Linked DNA regions of Homo sapiens: region 1 is linked to region 2. Evidence: promoter capture Hi-C in 16 types of primary human blood cells and fetal thymus (Javierre and others, 2016). All regions are on one chromosome and are shown on one strand. Each heading gives the region's core, a stretch centred on a gene start or on the middle of the fragment in contact. The rest is flanking DNA. Distances are from core to core; before and after follow the strand shown. Region 1 overlaps SPNS3 (SPNS lysolipid transporter 3, sphingosine-1-phosphate (putative)). Region 2 holds the start of ALOX15 (arachidonate 15-lipoxygenase).

What was found. The method cuts DNA at HindIII sites, captures the fragments that hold promoters and counts their contacts. A CHiCAGO score of 5 or more calls a contact.
Region 1: a contact is called between a fragment that was not itself captured here and the fragment with the promoter of ALOX15 in region 2, in 1 of 17 cell types (naive CD8 T cells). The highest score is 6.9, in naive CD8 T cells.

The regions. Positions count from the first base shown.
Region 1 is chr17:4,451,363-4,454,914 of GRCh38, reverse strand. SPNS3 (SPNS lysolipid transporter 3, sphingosine-1-phosphate (putative)) reads right to left here. Exons shown (of 12, transcript NM_182538.5): 8 at 1,710-1,899. Among named protein-coding and RNA genes, the nearest start is that of SPNS3, 19 kb to the right of the region's middle. The HindIII fragment of the contact is 1,406 bases long and covers 1,554-2,959 here.
Region 2 is chr17:4,639,493-4,643,018 of GRCh38, reverse strand. ALOX15 (arachidonate 15-lipoxygenase) reads left to right here and starts at 1,341. Exons shown (of 14, transcript NM_001140.5): 1 at 1,341-1,502; 2 at 3,388-3,526. The coding sequence starts at 1,368. The HindIII fragment of the contact is 20,783 bases long and covers 1-3,526 here.

The DNA.
Region 1 (3,552 bases), core at 1,007-3,506, 190 kb after region 2:
GCAGTGGCTCACGACTGTAATCTCAGCACTTTGGGAGGCTGAGGTGGGTGGATCACGAGGTCAGGAGTTCAAGACCAGCCTGGCCAACATAGTGAAACCCCGTCTCTACTAAAAATACACAAAAAAATTAGCCGGGCTTGGTGGTGTGTGCCTGTAATCCCAGCTACTTGGGAGACTGAGTCAGGAGAATCACTTGAACCCAGGAGGTGGAGGTTGGTTGCAGTGAGCCAAGATCGTGCCACTGCACTCCAGCCTGGGCGACAGAGCAAGACTCTGTCTCAAAAAAAAAAAAAAAAAAAAAAAAGCTTTATTTGGAAGCAGGGCTAAAGTTGTTTTGATTTCAGTGGGACCAGACTGTTTAGTTCATGTGTGTGACTAGAGAAGCAATGGGCTCTGGCCATGGGTAGGAGATGCAGCCAAACTAGTGTGAGGACAATAAAGTTGTGGCTGGTTTACTTTTCCAAAGTCCAGTCTGCTCAGTAAACCTGGTTAACATGTGCAAGCGCATCTGTGTCTGCAGCCACAGGGCCCAGGGCCATGGAGCTGGGAAAGGAGGAGAGGTCTAGCCCCTCTGCTTGTGGCTGGGCTGGCGTCATCTTCCCAGAAGCAGTAGCCCTTTCCCATGTTGGGGGACAGGCAGGGCTGGGGCTTTGGGGAGCCAGGGACACGGCTGCACACAGGGACCCTCTGGCTCTGGTCCTGCCCTTTGGGCTCCCTGTCTGTGGACAGGCCCCATAAACCTTGGTGCCTCATGGGACCCAAACAGGTGCTGAGCCCAAGTGGGAACGTGAATTCTGGTGTGAGGATAGAGTGGTAGGGGAAGGCTTTTGGAGGAAGCGGACTTTGAGTTGAGTCTTGCAGAAGGAGGATTTCAGGATGCACAAAAGAGGAACTGGTGTTCTTGGTGGAAGAAATGGACGCGTGCAAAGTCTGGGAAGTGTGTGTGCCCACACGGCTGGCACAGCCAGAGTGTGAGGCCCATGAAGGGGTGTGATGGGATGTGGATTTGGAACACTTGATATTACCATGATTATTGCCCTTAAAGCAGCGTCCACATTGGCCATAACCAATCTGGGCCTTGCTTCCCTCCTCTGTAACCTGGGGAGAATTGCTCTATTTCTTCTTGGGCCCACAATATGCCCTGGCAATAAATGAGTCCTATTTTCTCAAATTAACACATTAACCCAATGCTCAGAGGACACCTTTTACAGTCAGAAAAGCTCAGGCTCAAATCCCAGTTCTGCCCCTTCTTCACTGTGGAACTCCTGGTAAGCTTCTCTCTCTGTTTTTTTCCCCCAAGATGGAGTCTTGCTCCATTGCCCAGGCTGGAGTGCAGTGGCGCAATCTCAGCTCACTGCAACCTCCACCTCCCGCGTTCAAGCGATTCTCCTGCCTCAGCCTCCCAAGCAGCTGGGATTATAGGTGCCTGCCACCATGCCCAGCTAATTTTTTGTATTTTTAGTAGAGACAGGGTTTCACCATATTGGCCAGGCCGGCCTTGACCTCCCAAAGTGCTAGGATTACAGACATGAGCCACCGCGTCCAGCCAAGCTTCTCTTTACTGATCTGTAAAATGGGGATAACAAGCTCTACTCAGAAGGAGTGATCAACATAATTGTACATAAAGGCCGGGCGCAGCATGAGCCTGTGGAAACAGGAGTTCCTCGCCCCCCAACCCTGTCCCCACCTCCATAGAGGCTCTCACTTACATAGGAGGCCAGCAGGGTGGTCGGGGCCAGGACGAGAGCCAGGTAGAGGCAGGGGGCTGTGGCAAGCAGGCTGGAGGCGCAGATGAGGGGCTCAGCTCCTGGAATGACTTTCTTGTACCTCCTCGCAGCTTCTGCCCCCAAGATGACCCCAATGACGCCGGTCATGATGGTCAGTGCCCCAAAAATCAGGCTGATGGGGAAGAGCACAGAAGGGTTGGTCAGCTGGGTGAGCTTAGCATAGGGACTCTTATCCTGCTCCCAGCCCCAGGTCTAGCCCCTCGGCTCAAGTGCATGATCTGGTGTCTACAGGGAATATGGCTGTGGGCCCCTGACCTGACCCAGAACCTTACCCACCCTCCTCACTGATACTCCCAGGGACCAATGTCCCACTGCTCTCCCCTACCCCCTTTCCTGCCTCATCTCCTGTCTCATCCTGGGGATCCCACTGGCCATGTGGGTGATCACCCTGCACCCCAGGTCCCAGCCTGCCTCATCTCCATTGACCCTTACCCTTTCACCCCCCAAAACTGCCCCACTCAAAATCTGAATTCCAGGGTCCCACCCTGGCCCCAACCTTCTCTCTTTCCAGCTCCCAGTACTAAGAGGAATGGAGGGAAGCAAACATGTATTTACTGAGCCCCTGTGATACACCTGGCCCTTGTCTGGGCTCTCTACACGCCCTCCCTCCTTGAATCCCATCCTTCCACTCCCCGTCTTTGAACCCCTCTCAGGCAGCCCCTACCTGACTTCCGTCCCTTTCCCACCCACTTTTAGAGCCACTTCTACTCTGCTTGGCTTCCCCTTGTACATCCTTCCTGTGGAGACCTGTCCCTCCAAAATAACCTCCACAAAGGCTCCCCAGGAGTGCATTTTGTGGCAGGAGATCTGTGGTGGGAGGAGTTCCAGATCAGAAAGATTTTGTCTCTACAAAAAATTTTTAAATCATCCAGCCTTGGTGGCGTGCACCTGTAGTCCCAGCTACTCAGGAGGCTGAGGCGGGAGGATCGCTTGAGCTCAGAAGTTCGAGGCCACAGTGAGCTATGATCATACCACTGCACTCCAGCTTGGGCAACAATTCCCAGATGGATAGGTGAGCAAGGTGAGGCTGAGAAAAGTCAAGGCCAAGATTACCCAGCTGGTAAATTACAGACCAGGATTTGAATATACTTCTTCACCCTCCTGGTCCATTGTGCAACCTCCAGCCCCCTTTTAAAGGAGCTCAAAGGGGACCAGGCAAGGTGGCTTAAGCTTGTAATCCCAGCACTTTGGGAGGCCGAGGTGGGTGGATCACTTGAGGTCAGGAATTCAAGACCAGCCTGGCCGATACAGCAAAACCCCGTCTCTACTAAAAAAAAAAAAAAATACAAAAATTAGCTGGGAACAGTGGTGGGCACCTGTAATCCCAGCCCACTCAGGAGGTTGAGGCAGGAGAATCACTTGAATCCGGGAGGTGGAGGTTGCAGTGAGCTGAGATCACACCACTGCACTCCAGCCTGGGCAAGAGAGCAAGACTCCGTCTCAAAAACAAAACAAAACAAAACAAATAAAGGAGCTCAAAGGGAACGCTGAGACTGTGCCCACTGTGAACTCTTGAAAACACCAGTCCAACCAGGATCTTTCCAACCTCTCAATAGCTCCCTGTCGTCCTCTGAGCAAGCTCCTGACCAGCACTGATGACTCTGCGGGACTGGTCCACGCTGACCGATGTAGCTTGCCCTCTCTTCTCCCACCCTCACTTTGCACAAATGACTGAGAATTCTCTAAATTCTCTACCAAAAGTACAAAAATTAGCTGGGCGTGGTGGTGTGCGCCTGTAGTCCCAGCTACTTGGGAGGCTGAGGCA
Region 2 (3,526 bases), core at 92-2,591:
GGAGAAAAGTGTTAGAAAGGAAAGCTGGGCCGGGCGCCGTGGCTCACACCTGTAATTCCAGCACTTTGGGAGACTGAGGTGGGTGGATCACAAGGTCAGGAGTTCAAGACCAGCGTGGCCAACATGGAGAAACCCCGTCTCTACTAAAAATACAAAAATTATCCAGGCATGGTGGCAGGCGCCTGTAATCCCAGCTACTCGGAAGGCTGAGGCAGAGAATTGCTTGAGCCCGGGAGGCAGAGGTTGCCGTGAGCCGAGATCGTGCCATTGCACTCCACCCTGCATTCCAGGGTGACAGAGTGAGACTCTATATCTCAAAAAAAAAAAAAAAAGGAAAGCTAATTCACTCTGGTGGGGTGGTGGGGGGTGAAAGTACCGGGTAAGACTTTCCTGAGAAACCGGAGGTGAACTAGGGTTTAGAAGCATGAATAGATGAATAGACTAATCCAGGAGCAAGTTCTTTTGAGAGAACAGCAGGTGGGGTTCTGGGGAACACATGGCTCCAGCCCAAAAAGAAACTGGAGACGAATTAGGGTTTAGAAGCATGACCAGACTAACCCAGAAGTGAGTTCTTTGAGAGAACAGCAGGGGCGGCGGGGGGAGGGGGGGTTCCGGGGAACACATGGCTCCAGCACAGGAGATGCCAGGGTGCAGTGGGATGAGAGGTGAGGAGAGCAGGTCAGGTTAGCAAGGGCATTGAATGCCAGAAACATTTGGACTTTTATTCTGCAGGCAACAGGGAGGCAGCGGCTTTTATGCTCAAAAGGAATGAGTCCCAGTGGCTGGCACAGAGAAGGCAAGTGTGCAAAGCTGGTCGAATGAATTCCGTGGCCTGAATGTACCTTCCTCAAATGCCACTGCAAACTGGGTCTCCTCGCCCACTTCACCCTCTCCTGCAATCCAACTTGTGAGGCTTGTGTGTGCGCGCGCGTGTCCTTGCGTGTGTGTGTGTGTGCACGCGTGCGTTTAGATGGAGGTTGGCTTCCCAGCCACCCAGGCTTGGCCCAAAGTCCGTGGTACACACGTGCATAACTCCTACCCCCACCTCGCCTGCCTGCTGTACCAGGCGTTGATTCCCTCTTCCTGCGTGTTTTCGGTCCAAATCCTTTTCTTTTTCTCCCTCCCGTCAAGATAGTGGTTTCCACTCCCTGCTCTCGCCAGGACACCGCCTTTTGGACTGGGGCTGAATTCTGCCCCTTGAAGCTCTGCTCCTTGGAGCTGGGGGCCCCAGCGGTAGGCGGAGTTGATTGGAGACCTGCCACCCACATTCCGACCCCAAGCGACCTCCGAGAGGGCGGGGTCTCAGGCTGGGTTATTTAGCTCGTCCACCCTTCTCCACCAGAAGGAGCGAAACATCTTTGAGCAAGATGGGTCTCTACCGCATCCGCGTGTCCACTGGGGCCTCGCTCTATGCCGGTTCCAACAACCAGGTGCAGCTGTGGCTGGTCGGCCAGCACGGGGAGGCGGCGCTCGGGAAGCGACTGTGGCCCGCACGGGGCAAGGTGAGCTCCCCAGAGCCGGGCGGGGTGGGCTGCGCCCCTGGCTCCGAGTCAGTCAAATACCGGGGAGGACATGCGCCCCCGTTGGCCTCTGGCCGATTCTCTTTGCCAAGGGCCCGCGCATTGGGCTCAAAGCGCGCGGAGGCCACGGGGGTGGGGGGCTTTAGGGCAGTCGGTGGCACACAGTAAGCGCTCAATAAATGTTGCCGCTACCCGATCTCCTTGGAATTGAGGGCATGCTCCTGTGCGCCCCTCATTGCACAAAGCTCCCTTGTCTGGAAACTCAGCAGTCACTGGAGCCGCCGTCGGTCCTCTCGCTTTCTCTATTTTAAAAACCGTTTCAACCGCTAGCGCTGTTGGATCTCTACCTTTCAGGCTTTATCACCTGGGGTGGAGTGGGTGGTGAGAGGGAAGGGATGGGGAGTCAAGACAGGAGAACGCTCTCGATTTCCCGACCCACCTCCCGTCATATCTCATGTCACATCTACCGGGTGTTCTACCCGGTCCTGTTAACTTTTTTTCTTCCGCGAAAGCCCAAATTCCCATCACTGCTCTAGCTCTCTCCCAGATCCCCAAATCCGGATGTCTGTCTCAGGGAACGTCAAAGCAACATGCCCGGATGAGGTCCTCCCCTCTCCCCACCTCCCAGCCCTCTCCTCCTGCCTCCCCCGGTGTCACCCGCGCCTCCTTCCTCTCTTCACCTCCCTCTAAACAAGAATCCGGCGCAGTCAGTTCTAGACCCTGAGCATCTCCCGCGTCCCTGCCCAATATCCGTCCCGCCCCCGACCGCCCGCGTCCTCTTGAACCTGCGGAGCCCTGCTCCCCGCACTCCACGCCCTTGCTCCGAGCTTCCGAGAAAGCGGGGCAAAGGGAGCCAGGAAGAGAGAAAATGCGCACGGAGCAGGTGGCCCCGCGACTCCATGGTGAGGGGACGGGGCACGGAAGGTGGAAAGGCGCGCTCCCTCCTCCCTTTTTTCCTCCCTATGGTGGGCAGTTGGTGACACACAGTAAAGGCTCAATAAATGTTCCCGCTACTCGATCTCCTTGGAATTAAGGGGATGCTCCTGAGCGCCCCTCATTCCACACAGCTCTGGTGCCTGGAAACTGCGGTCGCCGGAGCGGTCGTCGGTCCTCCCGGTTTCTCTATTTTAAAAGCCATTTCAAACCTCCAGCGGCCTCGCCACCTCTGCTGCAGACCTTCCAAGCCCTTCTGAAGCCGGAATGATTTCTCCCTAATTCACTCCCCCTGCTTAACACATTCGAACGGCTCCCGCTTGTTCTCGGGACCAAATCCAAAGCCCCTGGCGCCACCTTCGAGAGCCTCCGGACCTGCTGACCCCCCACACCTGGGCTCTGAGCTCCAGCTCCAAGATGCTGCTCGCCCTCCCTTCCCCGCCGCTCTCTTTCTGCGCGCCTTTCCCCTGCCTTCCCTTTCTGTCACTCTCCCTGGCTGAGCCCTCTCCGCCTCCAGGTCTCCGGGAAGGTTGTCCCCAGGCCGGTGGGGCCCCTGCAGGTCCTCAGCCTCGGGCGGGGTGGGGTGGGGGGTCGCACAGCGGGAATTGCCACCAGCGCGTCCGGGCTCCACAGCGCGCTCGTCCAGGGCGCGGCAGCGCTCAGCCCAGCGCTTGGCACAGTCAGTGACCACAGGGAGGAGAAAGTGAAGGCAGGAGCGCACCTTCCCACCTGCCGTCCCCGTCCCCTCAGAACCGAGTCCTGGGGCCACCTGCTCGGCGCGGTCCCTCTCTCTCTGGCTCAGTCCCCGCACCCCGATACGTCTCCTCCTCTCAGAGGCTCCGAGGAAGGGCGTGGGCGCTGGAGGGAGCAGGGCTCAGCCGGGTGCCCCTCCCGCCAGGCCCCACCGGGGCTGAGCCTCTTCTGTCGCCCGCAGGAGACAGAACTCAAGGTGGAAGTACCGGAGTATCTGGGGCCGCTGCTGTTTGTGAAACTGCGCAAACGGCACCTCCTTAAGGACGACGCCTGGTTCTGCAACTGGATCTCTGTGCAGGGCCCCGGAGCCGGGGACGAGG